Linked DNA regions of Homo sapiens: all the other regions are linked to region 1. The links are contacts of gene promoters, found by promoter capture Hi-C in blood cells and fetal thymus (Javierre and others, 2016). All regions are on one chromosome and are shown on one strand. The core of a region is centred on a gene start or on the middle of the fragment in contact, and the rest is flanking DNA. Distances in the headings are between cores, read along the strand shown. Region 1 holds the start of LRP2BP (LRP2 binding protein). Region 2 overlaps CFAP97 (cilia and flagella associated protein 97). Region 3 overlaps SNX25 (sorting nexin 25). Region 4 overlaps SORBS2 (sorbin and SH3 domain containing 2). Region 5 overlaps SNX25 (sorting nexin 25). Region 6 overlaps SNX25 (sorting nexin 25).

Region 1 (2,700 bases), core at 37-2,536:
GGGATCCGGGGGTGCGTTGACCGAGGCCCCTGTCTCCAGCAAATGCTTCAGACCATCCACCTGCAGGAAGAGAACAGATCCAGCACCCTTCCCACCTTTGTCCAGTCCCGCGCCCCTCCGGGCTGGAAACCTCCCCGCCCTTCACAACCAGCTCTGACCAGGCAGCGCCCAGTGGTCCGTCCCCGCATTAACGAGAAGACGAATCTAGAAGCTTGAGCCTGCAGGACAAAAGCTCGGGCTCTGTGAGCCCGAATCTCACCTCGGGGTTGCAATCCAGCAACAGCATTTCCCGCCTAAGGCAGATGACAAGAGTCCTTGGAAGTGCAGAGAGGTGAGACACTCGCCGCACCCCGACAGGTAAGAATGCGCAGGCTGGCCCTAGCACGGGAGAATTTAAAGACCGCTGGGACTTCCGGGCCGGCCCTTGGCAGCCGCGCCCCAGCTCCGGTTACGCCCGAGCAGCCTAATCCTCAACGACCCGGACCCTGTCCAGCCCCGCCACGGCCGCACGTACACAAACACTGGCACGTGGAGCCCGGCGCCGGGGGCAGGGGGAGGGGGCGGGCGCGCGAGGCCATCCGCCGATTGGCCAGCTGTGGATGCGTCAGGCCCTCCCACCTCGGGGCGGGGCCCGCGGCGGCCCCACGGAGCCTCAGCGCGCGTGCGCAGGGTAAGTCAGTGGGCGTGAGAGGACTGGAGTAGGAGCGGGTGGGGCTCCGCGGCCGCCATGAGGCGCGCTGAGTTTGACACGTCTCCCGGTAGTGCGCCCGCCCTTTAATCCTTACGGAGAAGCGGGAGTTTCGGCTGCAGGTTTTGGCTCTGCCGGCGCGCACGTAACCAGGAAACTGGGAGCCACGCGCAGCTCCCCGTCGACGCCGCCTTCAGAAGCCGCTGTGCACTGCGCTGCTGCCGCCTCGGCGCCGGGGAACGCAAGTTCCTTTACCTCGCGCGCAGTCGCCCGCCTCCCAACCCGGGAGGTGAAGGCGGGGACGGCGAGCGCGAACTCGAGGGGATGGCTGTCCCGAGTGGCAACGGCCGAGCCCGGCCCGCGCAGGGACCCTTGTGGAGGGGCCCTCGGGGAGAGGCCGCAGCACGCTGGGGTCGTCACGCTGGTCCACGCCGGGCTCTCCTCCCGGGAGAGCGGACCCGGCCGCGTGCGATTCGGACCCGCGGGGCTGGTGAAGCCGCTGTCCGGCCCCGCGGGTGCTGTCGGGCGTGCGTCACTGCTTTTTGTAGAACATGACCTGACTTCCGATGGCAGCTACTGACGTCAGAGCTGCTCCCTAGACTCTCCCTAAGCGTCTTTCCAGAAGGATCTGCTTAGAAACCAAAGCTCCAGCCGAGTGTTTCTTTTCCCCTACATTTTTAGTGATTCCCTTCTGTTGATGCCTTTGAAAGCTCGGAGAAATAAATACGTTTATTGTTATGCTGTTAGAAAACAAGTTCATGCTTGTCCTCTAAAGATAAGTGGTCTTTTCATTCTACTTTTTGTTTTGTAGTAAGAGCCATAAAATTTGCAATCGCAAGTTTATGTTGTTATACTTAGTTACCCAAGGGGTAGTTTTAAGCATTTTTATTCATATGAATATTTGAATATAAATGTGTGTTCAAATATATAGAATCGTTCTTATATTCCACATTTTTAATATTTAAACTATTCACAATATCTTTTAATGATGTTTAAAGAACGGCAGTGTAGAGATACTGTTGTCAGATTTGTGAGGTGAGCACACGTTGATATTGCCAGTTTCGCTTTTGTTTATCAATTCAATAAGCACTGCTTTTTAAAACACGTGTTGAAGCTTCAGGTTTGCACAGAAGTTCATTTTCAGGAATTCCTAACTAATAAAGGGTATCAGACACGTTCTTACAGTTTTGAACATAAATACTGCAGTTAGCATATGTAGTGGGATATTTGTGTGGTGAAAGTGCCTCCATATTTCATATCTTTTCTTTGAAACAAGATTCTGTTCAGTATGCATTAAGTGGTAGTTATTTTTTAACTTCCTGTTACATACGTAAATTTCATAAGGAAAGGAAATTTGGGGAGTCGTTACAGCTTTTCTCCCTTTAATCACAGCGTACCTGTCCATTGCTCACATTGTTTTCAGAAAAAAAAGTTGTATCTCAGCTGGATATCTGACTTGACTTTAGTAATGGGCCTAGAAACTATAAACTGAACAAAGCTTATAATGCACAAAAACAGGATAAGTACATTTGGGGGACAATATCTTACTGGCAAGTAACTGGAGTTTCACCAGGCGTGTAGCAGGTGGGATCAATTTTCTAAAACGGAAGATGATCTAAGATGCATATTTTATAGGCGTTCTCCTAAGCAGTGCTAATTCTACATGTTTTAATTGCTGGTAGATGCGTTTCCAGAACGAGGATGCCATTTACAGCGAGTGTTAAAAAAAACGTTGGATGATGAGTAAGTGACCGAATAGATGAGAGATGTGTGGGCTGAATCTTGAGTAGTAAGAGTTTGCTAAGGAGTCCAGGAAGGGAAGAGTATTTCTAAGAAGTGTAAAATATCTTCCAGTATTGAGAGCACTATATGTAGTTCAGTCTGGGGGCAGTGTGTGATACACATGCAGCTGTGATGTGAAATAGAGAAAGGCCGACAAATGAGAAAGTATTAACCACTAACGTCTATTCCAGTTTATTATATTACAAATTGACATTAATTGAGCACTTGTG
Region 2 (2,700 bases), core at 118-2,617, 230 kb after region 1:
GAAAAACTAGTCTGGACTTCAAGTGAGGAGAAGTTTCTCAGATATTTCTTCTTTTTATATTTTCAGGAGCTTCCAGGACATCCAGTGCTACGAGTGGTCTCAGTTGTAGGAGTGAGCGATCAGCGGTTGACCCCTCCAGTGGCCACCCTCGAAGAAGACCTAAACCCCCTAATGTCCGTACAGCTTGGTTATAAAACACTTTTTTACTTTAAACATTGTTCACACAACTTTTCTTGAAGTGCTCGTGCATATTCCTATAATTCTCTGTGTAAACATCTAGAATACCGTTTTAGCAATTGAAGGTGTACAACAGTGAGTTGTAATGTATTGTTATTCAGTGCAAAATTATTGTCAAAAAACGATTTAATGTAAAAAGTGTTTCCTGAGGATGTATTTATATGAGATGTATGTGTTCTTAATAGAGAAATAGTGGTATGCATGTGTATCTTCTAATTATTCAGTTGTCATGCTGTCAAAATAGTAGTGATAGTATCATTGCATGTCGTACCCAAGATGGTCACTATAGTTTTCAATTTGTGTTATTTTCATTTCTTTATAAGTGTTATACCATGAGCTCAGCTCCTAAATTTGGCTGGCTTTGTTTTTCATTTGCTTTAGAACTTATGTGGCATGACATAGCTCGATTGTATGAGATTTAACACTTATTATGAAACAAATCTTGAAATTTGTTTTCACTGGTAGAGCTGATCTAGATTTGATGAGCAGATTGAGAGACGCTTCTATTGGAGCAATTCTTGTAATTCACCAGAGGTATCTAGTTGTTGTATAAGTGCACTGAGTTAGATCTTAAAAGTTTGATCAATCATTCCAAACCATTTCAAATATGAATATTAGAAAGTTCAACTTAGAAGCTTCCCTTTTGTGTTTTCATGCATTCAGGTAAAGTCCTATTTATGACTCTTAGAAATGAGGTAGGTTTTAGAGCTAGTCTTCTAACTCGTGAATAGTTTAAGGACCACATCAGTTGCAAACCAAGTATTTGTTGAATCAGTAAAATGGCACTATCAGCATGAAGAGCCGAGAAGCAGATCCTGAGGTGTGTCGGACAGTGTTTTAGGTAATTCAGTATTTATTATGTTATTAGAGAAGACTTAGCGTAAGAAAGAAATGCTTTAGAAATTCCAGCAAGTATTTATAAGGCCTGAAAAAACTAAAATTTGAACAAAAAGGGAAATAAATCACACATTTGTTGAGGCTGCTGCTTTAAGTATTAGCTAATTTTCTTGTTTTGGTTTACTTTGATTTATTTGATTGAACCCTGGAAGTATTATTTTTACCAGTCCCACATTTAAAGACCTAGTAATCTTGATGGAATTGGTAATGGCAGATAGGGTTTAATGTTGTTGACTTTTCAAATTAGAATTTTTTTTCTATGAAACTTAGGCTTTTATATAACAAAGTATGTTATCTCATTGTTACCGCCGTTTTTCACTACTAGCCTTTTCAGTATGCCCTTAAAATGTATTGGAAAGGTTCCATGTTAAATGACAAATATCTTTTTCAGTATGAATTTTTGATCTGTAGCCACAATAAGATTTTCATTTTTCAGTGCTCAGGCTCTGTAGCATGTATGCTGAATGCTTTTTTCCTTAGCACCTTTAACAGTAAGGTGTTACTGCATTTTACAAAACATCAATTCAACATGTCTTGGATTTAGTTTGTATTCATAGATTTTGTTAAGGATCAGGCCTGTGAACATGGGCACAGTGAGGTTAAATAATTCACCTGGCCACAACCTGGCTTTGAGGTTCTGCTTTTGGGGGCCATAATTTTCATTCAATGTTATTCGATGCTCTGTTCTGGTGAACAAGTTACTATACCTGCTGTGTATATAAGCTTGAGCTATACTAAACCAAGGCTTTATTTTCTTTTGTTTTTTAACTTACTGTACTTTTACTGTTTATATAACCTATATTTCAAGAGAGAGAAGATAATGCTGAATTTTAAATTTAGCATTTGAACATCTGTCCAATAGTGAATTAATCAGTTTTTTTAAAATTGATTTTTAAGTTGTTCCAGAAAAAAATATATATATATGTTTTATATATATAATCTTTTTATATATATAAAAAATCTTTTTTATAAATTTTATTTTAAAAATCTTTTAAAAAAGATTTTTATATATATATAAAGATTATATATTTATATATAGTCTTTTCTGTTCATAATGGCATTAGTCTCTGAGTACATTTTATATTATCTTTGTTGCCACATGTCAGGATACAACACAATAGTTTTATAAATAACAACTGTACTTTGATTTTAGGTACTAATTTAATGCTTTAGTTTTTACTACTTTGAAAGGGGAGGTTCATCTAAGTATTACTGATAACAGGGATCCAACTTAAAGTAAAAGTTGGAAAGGGCAAGAGTCTTTTAAGCGGAACTTCAATTCTGTTGTCATGGTTACTTATATATAATGAATATAAATAGACAAATAGGACTTGGAAAATGTGGTATATTCTAAGTCAAGATGCTATGAAGTTGTTATAGTTTAAGGGACATTCTTAAGAAGGAATTACTTAAGTACATTACTCTTCTCATTTCAAGGACATGAAAAAGTAAAGGATGGTCTGGCACTATTTTATTTTATTTTTTTTTTGACTTGTACTGAATATATGTACTTTGAAGATTTACATCTATAACTAGAAAGTATGCTAATCCGAGGTCTGGTTATTA
Region 3 (2,700 bases), core at 179-2,678, 150 kb after region 1:
GTATTTTTTGCAGAGACAGAGTTTCACCATGTTGCCCAGGCTGGACTCCTGGGCTCAAGCAATTCACCCACCTCGGTCTCCCAAAATGCTAGGATTACAGGCATGAGCCACCACATCCAGCCAATCCTGTACTCTAAAAATCATGATTATGAGATTATGAATAATTGCCAAATTTTAAATCCAGTAAGTTTTATAAGTCATACTTTAAAGATTATGAATAATTGCCAAATTTTAAATCCAGTAAGTTTTATAAGTTGTACCTTAACTACTAATAGAAGTATTTTTTAAAATTTAATTATGTCCCCAAAGGTCTAAAATTCTGTGAATCCACACAATTTCAAACTGTTTCTGTACTGATACAGTACTCTCATTTTCAGATTTTGATATGGTGATTTTTGTGAACTATGATGAGTAAAACACATATATGTACATATCACTTGTTCAGCTCTCTTAACTTCACGTCTAACATCATATATTCACCTGATAAACTCATGACTTGTTTTCTGAAAATTAACTGAAACTGTCAATGTTTTTAGAAATTTGATATTTAAAATCTTTCTTAAACCTTAATTTGATGTTCAAAATATATTTTTTAAAATTTTAATATTTAAAAGTACACTTATTTATTCCCACTTCCAGACATAGCCATATTTTACCTTCCACCACCCTGCTTCTGCCTTCTTCAAGACAAGCTTCATTGTAAACTCACTCCTCTGAAAGACTACTATCACTTAGTTGGGTTTAACTGGTTTATCTATGAGTGAGCCTGAGTCTATTTATCCCAACATAGCTTCTCTAGGTTATAGTTAGAAGAAAAAAAAAATTCCTAAAACCCATTTTAGAAAAGAGAGAACAGATCTGTGCTTCATATGATGGAACTAGCTCTACATGGCTGGCTAGTTTCACATGATCTGGAAATTCCTACTCAACAAACGTGTAAATCCCTTACATGCAAACAAAACATGGATGTATTTAGTCATCAAATACAAACTCATGAAGAAAAAATTCCTAACACTACATGCAGACAAGAAGAATAAATTTGCTGGAGATTATTATTTTCCTCTTAGAACATAATGAATTGCTTTACATGGTAATTATATACTCTCATTTAATCCTTACCTTCTTTCAGAGCTTTATCCATATTATGAGAAATTACTACCCTTCTAGACTGAGCTGACTCATGTGAGTTTCCATACACAGGACTCTGAAATGAAAGGAAAAAAATACAAAGCAGATTACTGAATGAATAAATCACATAAAAAAAAAAAATCAAAGGTATGAAATGCCATCTAAACAAGCATTAAGATAAGGCTTAACGAATAACAGAAGTTTTTCCACAAAAGTAAATAAATGCTTAAGGTTAAAATTTTTTGGAAAAAAAATTAAGGAAGGATTTTCCCTACCAGATATCAAAACAGTATAATGACTGTATAGGAATAAATAAATCAACACAATGGTAGGGAGTAAACAAACCGATGTAGCTATATATGTGCAAATTAAGAACATAATTTTCTTAAGAAGAATTTGAAATTAATGATAAAAACCACACACTACTCAGCAAATGATGTTGGAATAATTTGATATTCACATGGGAATAAAAGGTTACGGTCTTACATTCTGTATATAAATAACTCCAAAAAGATTAAACAGCTAAACATGTTTTAAGCTAAAAAAGAATTAAGAAGAAATAAGGGAGCAGCTTTTTATAATCTTGGAATGGAAAAGGCTTCTCTAAAATAAAACACAAAATCCAAATGGTATGAAGGGGGAAAAAATGACAAATCTGACTACCTAAAATACAAAATTCTTGTTTCACAAAAGATGATGCAATCGAAATGTAAATGATAGACTAGGAGACAGTATCTGTAACAATGTAACAAAGAACTATCATTAAATATACAGAGACTCCAAAAATAAGAAAATAACTCAAAAGAAAACCAAAGAAGTTGAAAGGGAAATCATAAAAGATAAACAAATGACCAATAAATGTATGACAAAAAAATGCAATCCCCTTTTTTATTAGAGGAATGCAAATTAGAGCAATGAGATACCATCAGACTGCCAAAGCAGCAGAAAGGACATACCTATCTAATGTTCACCAGGACACAGGGAAATGGTTGTTTTCATATATTGTTGGGGGAAATATCTATTTCTACAAGCTTTTAAGAAGGCAACTGAGCCACATATATCAAAATTTTAAAGGACTTTTTTGAGTCTCACATGTTGCCCAGGCTGGAGTGCTGTGGTGCTCACTGCAACCACTCAGCTCACTGCAACCTCCGCCTCCCAGGTTCAAGTGATTCTCCTGCCTCAGCCTCCAGAGTAGCTGGGACTTCAGGCCCACGACACCACACCCAGCTAATTTTTTATTTCTAGTAGAGATGGGTTTTTCCCATGTTGGCCAGGCTGGTCTCGAACTCCTGACCTCATGTGATCACCTGCCTCGGCCTCCCAAAGTGCTGGGATTACAGGCGTGAGCCACCGCACCCGGCCTAAAGGACTTTCTATTCTGCAATGCCACTCCTAGGACTCTGCCCAATGGAAATCCAAAAAAGTACATGTATAAGGAATTTTACTGCTATATTAATTATAGGGGCAAAAAAAATTGGAAGTAACGCAAGTTTTTATATATACGTCAATAGTCAAAGAGTTAAATAAATTATTGGTATACCATTAAAAAGAATGCTTTAGGGATACATA
Region 4 (2,700 bases), core at 113-2,612, 200 kb before region 1:
TCTTACACATAAATGAAGGGTGTCCGGGACTGGTATGGTGGCCCCGCAGTCATCAGAGAACCCAGGAGTTTCCATCTGATGTGGGCTCATCGCCATCCTCAGAGAGAAGCTTCCGCTATGGGTCCCAGGTGGCAGCTCGAGTAGTTCCCTTCTCACACGAACCAGCAGGAAGGAGAAAAGATGGGAGATTACACCTTCTCCCTTGAAGGCCAAGTCCCAGAATTGCATATATCCCCTCGGTCTCAGCTTATGACATGAGTACATCCAGCTACAAGTCAGGAAATGTGGTCTTTATCCAGAATGGCCATGTGCCTACCCAACAGCCTGGCCCCATTACTGAGGACCAAGAAGAGAATGGATGTGGAGAGCATCAAGCATCGTCTGCCACGACACTTAAGCAACGGTGCCAAACACATTTCATCCCGAGAGGCTGGGGATTTGAGGTCAATCATTACTGAGAATTAGGAAAACTTTTCTAAATGAGAGTTGAGAAAACCACATGCTTTTATTTAAGCGTGTTTTATTCCTCCGGAAGTTCTCTTAAGCCAGATCAAATACCAGGCAGTACACTGCCAGATCCTGTCCGCTATTGGAAGGAAAATAAAACCTACACAAAAGAAGGTCAGCTTACTCACTGTCATATGAAAGATCTTACTCTGAAAATAAAAAAAAAACACCAAAACAGTCCAGCCCACAGGTTGGCACTTCAGTAGTTCATCAAATTTCACCATGTTTCCCCCCAAAAAGGCCTTATTTTCTTCTTATGTGTTAGAAAATTTTGCCTCCAACAAATGTCTGATACAGTCCATGAAATTTGACAGGCATTAAGCCAAATTCTCCTCTATCTCACCTTGCATCCCTTCAATAAGATGAAAAAGCAGGGCAGGTTTGAGAGCATCTTGAACCCAATTGCTAAGCATTCTATGAAAGACATAACATTTCTTGGCCGGGCGCAGTGGCTGACACCTGTAATCCCAGCACTTTGGGAGCCCGAGGCAGGCAGATCACTTGAGGTCAGGAGTTCAAGACCAGCCTGACCAACATGGTGAAATCCTGTCTCTACTAAAAATACAAAAATTAGCTGGGCCTGGTGGCGGGTGCCTGTGATCCCAGCTACTCGGGAGGCTGAGACAAGAGAATCGCTCGAACCCGGGAGATGGAGGTTGCAGTGAGCCGAGACTGTGCCATTGCACTCCAGCCTGGGCGACAGAGCCAGACTCCGTCTCAAAAAAATAAAAGACAAAAAAAGATATAACATTTCTTATATGTTCTTGGCCTCTTCCCTATGCCAGCTTTCCTCTGTGAACCTTTTTCTGCTGTGCCTGTGGGTGCCATGTTAAGATGGCAGCTGGTGCCTGTGGTGTGGAAACTGTATAAGCAGCTGGAGAAGCTGTGGACCCTCCCTGCCCTGCTGTTGTGCAGGAGTTTGGCATGCTGTGTGTGCATGGAAAAAGCCAGCCAGGAAAGCTCCTCCTGAAGTCTGTGTGACGAAGATGAGAGCTAACTAACTTCTTGTACATTTTCCAGGCTGACGTAAAAAGCGAGATATGTGTCCTGGGTAAGCCTCCTCGTAGCCCAGTGATGTCTAGGAGATTCTGCGGCTCACCTGTCAGAGGGCTCAGCGGTTCCCACAGGGTAGGGTCAGCATGCCCCCACTTTGTGGCAGGCATCCTGGCCACCTCCCCCGCCCCCAGGGCTGGCTCTTCCTTAGTTGTCTTTGCTGTGAACTGGCCTTAAAGTGAGGCTGGAGACACCCTGAAGATGAAGCGACCACCTGGTGATGTGCTTCCCTTTTAGGTGTGTGTGAGGTTTCCAAACTCCACAAAGACATGGTCAGATTCTCTACTCTACAAATAAGAGTGTCGTGTGTTTTGTGGTCTACATCTGTCTCATGGTTCTACACTAAATCACTGCTTTCTAGTCACCGTTTCTCCTGCAAAGAAAAAACTGTTGCCAAGCATCTACAGTGCCGAACTCACACACTTCCGGTCATGTTTGCTTCTGTGTCATTCAATTTGGATTTTTTTTAAATCCATGATTCTTGTCTAACATCTTCTGTTTCTCTGGTGATGTGCACTACATCCTCTCAGTCTGCCTTTTGTCCCCATACTGCTGTCTGGATTCTATCCACTTCCTATTTCTTGCCAGCTCTGATTGAACTTAAAGGTCAAATTACTTTCCCTTAGCTACTTCGTTCCATAGTATCTACAGTACTTTAAAATACATGGACTCTAAATGGTACTTACTATCAATTCTAAGGAATGCAGCCAAGGAGTTTGGAAATTTTCATCTGGACATAAGTCAGGATTCCTTTCCTCATTTCTGTTTTAATGGACCCGGATTCAACCTTGACTGGCCTATCGCATGGCCGTGCTTCTGCATTTCAAGAAGTTCTCAAGGGCTTGATTTCACAGAAGTCTTCATTTTTTATTTCTAAAGAAAAGTCGATATTATTCTGCATTCATGCCACTTTGTGCTTTTTGCATTGCATAGGAAGACCTCATTTTGTTGCTGAGGCAGAGCTTTGTGTTGCCATAGAGACAGAAATGCCAATTTGTAGAGACTCTTAGACTCCCCCGAATGGCCTTCCAGAGCCAAAGCAAAACATAAGCTTCTTTTGCAGTGAAAAGGACCCATCTATAACCCTCCTGTGGGTCCACGAGATGGTATGCTTGTGTTCCCCTTAAGGTTTTTTTTTTA
Region 5 (2,700 bases), core at 116-2,615, 170 kb after region 1:
GGGTATAGGGCGCTGTATACCTACCGTGAGGGAGGGGTATATGGCACTGAATACCTGCCATGAAGGAGGGTTATATGGTGCTGTATACCTACAGTGAACGAGGAGTATATGGTGCTGTATACCTACCGCGAAGGAGGGGTATATGGTGCTGTATACCTACCGCGAAGGAGGGGTATATGGCTCTGAATACCTGCCATGAAGGAGGGTTATATGGAGCTGAATACCTACCATGAAGGAGGGGTATATGGTGCTGTATACCTACAGTGAATGGGGGGTATATGGTGCTATATATCTGCTATATATCTACCGTGAAGGAGGGGTATATGGCGCTATATACCTACCATGAAGGAGGGGTATATGGTGCTGTATACCTACAGTGAACGAGGGATATATGGTGCTATATATCTACCATGAAGGAGGGGTATATGGCGCTATATTCCTACCGTGAAGGAGGGGTATATGGTGCTATATATCTACAGTGAAGGAGAAGTATATGGTGCTATAAGAATATGTAAGTTGAAAGATAGGAAAAGCTTCCCTGCAAAACTGATGACTGTGGTATAAAGAAAGAGAAGTTAACTAGATAAAGGGGGCAGCAGCATGCTCAAGGCAGGAGAACAATATATAAAGTCCCTACAGACAGAAAAAGCCCGGCACTATGAGGACTGAGGGTGGAGCATGAGGAGTGAGGGTAATTATGACTGGAGATTAGGCTAGAGAGCTAGGAAGAGCAGGAAGTTACTGAAAGATTTTAAACAAACATGCTGCTGAAGAGGAATTTGATTAGGCTTGCATTTTCAAAAGAATCAATGGAAGAGGGAGCCAACATGGAGGCAGAGACCAATTGAAAGGTTGTTACAGTCATCTAGGTGGGACATGACGGTAGCTAAGACCAAGCAGGAAAGACTGAAAGAAGTAGATGAATGCAAGATACTCAAGAAATAAGGGCAGGCACCCCTGTAATCCAACATTCTGGGAGGCCACGGTGGGAGGATGGCTTGAGTCCAGGAGTTTGAGACCTGCGTGGGCAACACAGAGAGACTCCATCTCTAGAAAAAACTTTTTTAATTAGCCCGGGTCAGGCACAGTGGCTCACACCTGTAATTCCAGCACTTTGGGAGGCCAAAGCAGATTAATGGCTTGAGCTCAGGAGTTCAAGACCAGGCTGGGCAACATGGTGAAACCCTGTCTCTACAAAAAATACAAAAATTAGTTGAGTGCGGTGGCATGCATCCTTAGACCCAGCTACTTGGGAGGCTGAAGTGGGAGGAAGGCTTGAGCCCAGGAAGTGGAGGTTGCGGTGAGCCAAGATCATGCCACTGCACTCCAGCCCGGGCAACAGAGCCAGATCCTGTCTCAGAAAAAAAAAAAAAAATTAGCTGGGTGTGGTGGCACCCACCTGTAGTCCCAGCCATTGGCGGGGGAGTGAGGCATGGAGGATCACAAGAGCCCAGGAGGCTGATGCTGCGGTGAGCCATGATTGTGCCACTGCACTTCAGCCTAGGCAACAGAGTGACACCCTGTCTCAAAAATAAATAAATAAATAAAATTAACAAAAGAGGTAAAAGGACAGGACTTGATGGAGTGCCTATGGGGTATAAGGAGAAGATGTCAAGAAGGACTCAGTTAGGCCGGGCGCAGTGGCTCACGCCTGTAATCCCAGCACTTTGGGAGGCCGAGGTGGGCGGATCACAAGGTCAGGAGATCGAGACCATCCTGGCTAACATGGTGAAACCCCGTCTCTACTAAAAATACAAAAATTTAGCCAGGCGTGGTGGTGGGCACCCTTATCCCAGCTACTTGGGAGGCTGAGGCAGGAGAATTGCTTGAACCTGGCAGGCAGAGGTTGTAGTAAGCCGCGATCGCACACTGCACCCCAGCCTGGGTGACAGAGCGAGACTCCATCTCAAAAAAAAAAAAAAAAGGGACTCAGTTGTGGGACCTGACTTTCAGAGGTGCTATTCACTGACACAGAAACAAGAGGAACAAGCATTAGGAGATATACCTAATGCTAAATGACGAGTTAATGGGTGCAGCACACCAACATGGCACATGTATACATATGTAACAAACCTGCACATTGTGCACAAGTACCCTAAAACTTAAAGTATAATACTAATAAAATTTAAAGAAAAAAAAAGAAACAAGAGGAACAGAGACAGACACTGGTCATAAGATGTCACAGACTCAAGCTTCGGGTACCACTGGGACTGCCAGGTGGAAATGTCAAGTTAAGCAGTTGAATAAATAAGTCTGAGGCCCAAAACTAGATCTGAACCTCAGGAATAAATCTCTTAAGTCCTCAATATAGACAGGGATGATTATTGTAGGAGGCCAAAGTTGAGACTGCCCTAAAGTAACAGAATGAAGAATGAGACCTCAAGAATGACCCAAATGCAAATCTGGGAAACATCCAACTTTCTGAGCTATCTAGCGGTTGCAGTTTCAGAAAAAAAGAAAGGTTCAGTGAAATGGAAAAAAATCAGAAAAAAAAAAAAAAGATTAACAACTCTGCTTCAGGAAAAACACATGGAAATATCTGGAACAGTTAAGATGTTAATTTCATGTATAACAAATTGGCAGCCTGCAAGCAGCCCTCGGGTATATATTTTTATGAGTTGATTTACATAAGAGGAAGAGGCCTTGTGGGAGGTGGCTTATGTGTAGCAGCTCAAGGTTGGGGACTAGAGAAAGTCCTGG
Region 6 (2,700 bases), core at 147-2,646, 130 kb after region 1:
GGTTATAATAGCTGATGGGCACAGCTGGCTTATCCTGAGATAGTAAATGAGATAATCACTGCATCTCAAATGCAATGCTATTTGTCTGAGACTGAGATAGGGAAAGTTTCTCTTATCCTGACTAAGCATTTCCCTGGATATAGTTAACTTTTTTCTAGTAATCACATTATATTGTGGTACAGTTCCTTTTTACATATTCCAAGTTCACAAAATTATGTACAGTCATGCGCCACATAATGACATTTTGGTCAACAACAGACTGACTATATGACAGTGGCCCCCATAAGATTATAATGAAGCTGAAAATTTTCTACCATTTAATGAGGTCAAGCTAGTGTAAAGAAACCTATTGCACTGTCAATAGTATAAAAATACAGCACATACAATTATGTACAGTGCATACTTGATAATGATGATAAATGTTATTACAAAAGAGTCAAAAAGTTTAAAAAAATTAAAAGTTCATAAAGTAAAAAAAGTTATAGTAAGCTAAGGTTAATTTATTGAAGAAAATAAAATTTTAAATAAATGTAGTGTAGCCTAAGCGTACACTGTTTATGAAGTCTGCAGTGGTGCACAGTCATGTCCTAGGCCTTCACAGTCACTCCCCACTCACTCAGAGCAACATCCAGTCCTGCAAGCTCCATTCATGGTAAGTGTCCTATATAGGTGTACTGTTGTTTATCTTTTATACCATATTTTTACTGTACCTTTTCTATACTTAGATACACAAATATCATTGTGTTACTATTGCCTACAGTATTCAGTACAGTAATATGGTATAAGGTTTATAGTCTAGGAGCAATAGGTTACACCATATTGCCCACATGTGTAGTGGGCTATCCCATGTAGGTGTGTAAGTACACTCTATGATATTTGCACAATGACATTGTCTAATGACACATTTCTTCGGACACATCCCTGTTGTTAAGCAATGCATTACTGTATACGCATTATCAACAAATCATATAGCAAAGATATTTTAAGTAAATATGCTAATCAGAATTTGACTGTGGTCAGGGATGGTTGCTCACACCTGTAATCTCAGCACTTTGGGAGGCCTAAGTGGGAGGATCACTTGAACCCAGGAGTTCAAGACTTGCCTGGGCAACATAGTAAGACCCCCATCTCTATTTAAAGAAAAAAAAAAGAATTTGAACACACACACACACGTAATATATAAACATACATACTATGGATATTATATAGATATTATACACACATACACATACTTTCATTAATGTATATATTATTGGCCTAGATAACTCAAAAGCTATCCCAAATGAATGCTTCCCTGTGAAGAGCATAAAAACTTGTTTTCTATGTCAAAACATGCAACTTAATGGACTGTGCATTTGGCGATATGTCATATTAAAAATTTAAGTTTATCCTGAATGGCCAAATAGTTTTAGAGACATATAAACAAGATTTTGAAAATACTTCAAATCCCATATGTTCAACAGTAAACAAGGTCTGCATGTAGCACATTAGTTTGCACACTTATTGAATTAGTGAAATCAACTGTATAAGTCTACCTTTTGTTGTGAGAATTTCTGCAAGCATTATACGTAAGCTGAGAGACTGCACATCCTTTGAGGGGAGGAGACAAAACACCAGAACCCGAGAACACGTTTGTAGAAATCTTACTTCATCATCTGAGTTCCTCAAGCATGCGTGCAACACAAAAGGTCTTGGCTGTTCTTCATGTCTAAATAAAGAGAGTGAAAAAGAAGGAAAGAAGTTTCTAGAAACAATTCAATTATGTACTATTAGGTAAAAAATATTTCAAATGAGAAACACATTGGTTATAGTAACTGCCATCTCCTAAATAATCAAATTTCCTCAACCATCAACTCATCTGGAAAACTTTTGCTAGAATAAATGCAAATGCATGGCCTTTTTTGGATTTCAAATGAAATCATAACAACGAACTTCAGTAGCATCAAAGGGTCTATATAACTCCAAAATCACAGCAACAATCTAAAAAGGTACGAGTATTTATTTAGTAATTTTTAAGTCTTCTAGATGTTTTCTTAAATATGACCTGCAGCTTCATTTTTCAAAAAAACCTAACAAAGCATAAACCAGGGTTGCCAGCCTGCTTTCTGACTGGGAGATAATAGGATAAAAAGTCTACAGGTATTTCTAGTGAGCTAGAGGGTCTATAAACTCGACGTTATCTAATTTGATGGCAAATTGCCTTCTGTGAGGCTCCAAAGTATTTTTCAACCAGTCTTGACAACCTTGGTTGTGCACTTCCCTGTACTGACTCCATCCCAGGAACATTAATTTGGAGGATCTGAGTGAAGAGGACTGGAAAACAGAACTTTCTATACTTCCCTTCCCATAGTATCTTGATAGTGATTCAAGAAAGCCTGGGATGCTGCGTTTTCTAATATGTTCTAGATGAGGAGGCAAAGTATAAGAGATTTTTACAGTAACTAGTAGCTAACAATGAGAAAAAACATGAAGCAGAGGGAGAGAAACATACTAGGTACTGCACAGGAAATGAAACTAGTGCATATTAGTACCTTTAGGACCCATGCCTCTCAGGTGTTAACTGAAATTTATTTTGCACTGGAGACTGAAACTAGTTTCTAGAGTGTATAACGCTAGAAAAGAAAGGTTTCCTCTGTCTTGTACAACCTGAAGGAATTCTATCCTAATGTGTAAAGCCAGCAACATGAAAGGAAATTTTTA

What was found. The method cuts DNA at HindIII sites, captures the fragments that hold promoters and counts their contacts. A CHiCAGO score of 5 or more calls a contact.
Region 2: a fragment that was not itself captured here is called in contact with the fragment with the promoter of LRP2BP in region 1 in 1 of 17 cell types (endothelial precursors); the score reaches 5.2 in endothelial precursors.
Region 3: a contact is called between a fragment that was not itself captured here and the fragment with the promoter of LRP2BP in region 1, in 1 of 17 cell types (activated CD4 T cells). The highest score is 5.1, in activated CD4 T cells.
Region 4: a contact is called between a fragment that was not itself captured here and the fragment with the promoter of LRP2BP in region 1, in 1 of 17 cell types (endothelial precursors). The highest score is 6.0, in endothelial precursors.
Region 5: a fragment that was not itself captured here is called in contact with the fragment with the promoter of LRP2BP in region 1 in 1 of 17 cell types (total B cells); the score reaches 6.1 in total B cells.
Region 6: a fragment that was not itself captured here is called in contact with the fragment with the promoter of LRP2BP in region 1 in 3 of 17 cell types (naive CD4 T cells, total CD4 T cells and naive B cells); the score reaches 6.9 in naive CD4 T cells.

What each region holds. Positions count from the first base shown.
Region 1 is chr4:185,394,510-185,397,209 of GRCh38, reverse strand. It overlaps LRP2BP (LRP2 binding protein), which reads left to right and starts at 1,286. Exons shown (of 9, transcript NM_001377440.1): 1 at 1,286-2,431. ANKRD37 (ankyrin repeat domain 37) reads right to left here and starts at 369. Exons shown (of 5, transcript NM_181726.4): 1 at 260-369; 2 at 1-60. The coding sequence starts at 286. RefSeq lists silencers at 384-753, 974-1,163 and an enhancer at 784-853. The HindIII fragment of the contact is 1,591 bases long and covers 214-1,804 here.
Region 2 is chr4:185,160,292-185,162,991 of GRCh38, reverse strand. CFAP97 (cilia and flagella associated protein 97) reads left to right here. Exons shown (of 5, transcript NM_020827.3): 5 at 67-2,700. The coding sequence ends at 194. Among named protein-coding and RNA genes, the nearest start is that of SLC25A4, 18 kb to the right of the region's middle. The HindIII fragment of the contact is 985 bases long and covers 875-1,859 here.
Region 3 is chr4:185,245,798-185,248,497 of GRCh38, reverse strand. SNX25 (sorting nexin 25) reads right to left here. Exons shown (of 19, transcript NM_001378034.2): 2 at 1,120-1,204. Among named protein-coding and RNA genes, the nearest start is that of SNX25, 38 kb to the right of the region's middle. The HindIII fragment of the contact is 1,467 bases long and covers 695-2,161 here.
Region 4 is chr4:185,598,883-185,601,582 of GRCh38, reverse strand. All of the region lies in intron 24 of SORBS2 (sorbin and SH3 domain containing 2), which reads left to right. Among named protein-coding and RNA genes, the nearest start is that of SORBS2-AS1, 12 kb to the right of the region's middle. The HindIII fragment of the contact is 2,502 bases long and covers 112-2,613 here.
Region 5 is chr4:185,219,709-185,222,408 of GRCh38, reverse strand. The region is part of intron 1 of SNX25 (sorting nexin 25); the gene reads right to left. Among named protein-coding and RNA genes, the nearest start is that of SNX25, 11 kb to the right of the region's middle. The HindIII fragment of the contact is 1,659 bases long and covers 536-2,194 here.
Region 6 is chr4:185,263,446-185,266,145 of GRCh38, reverse strand. It overlaps SNX25 (sorting nexin 25), which reads right to left. Exons shown (of 19, transcript NM_001378034.2): 4 at 1,536-1,708. Among named protein-coding and RNA genes, the nearest start is that of SNX25, 55 kb to the right of the region's middle. RefSeq lists an enhancer at 1-268. The HindIII fragment of the contact is 3,072 bases long and covers 1-2,700 here.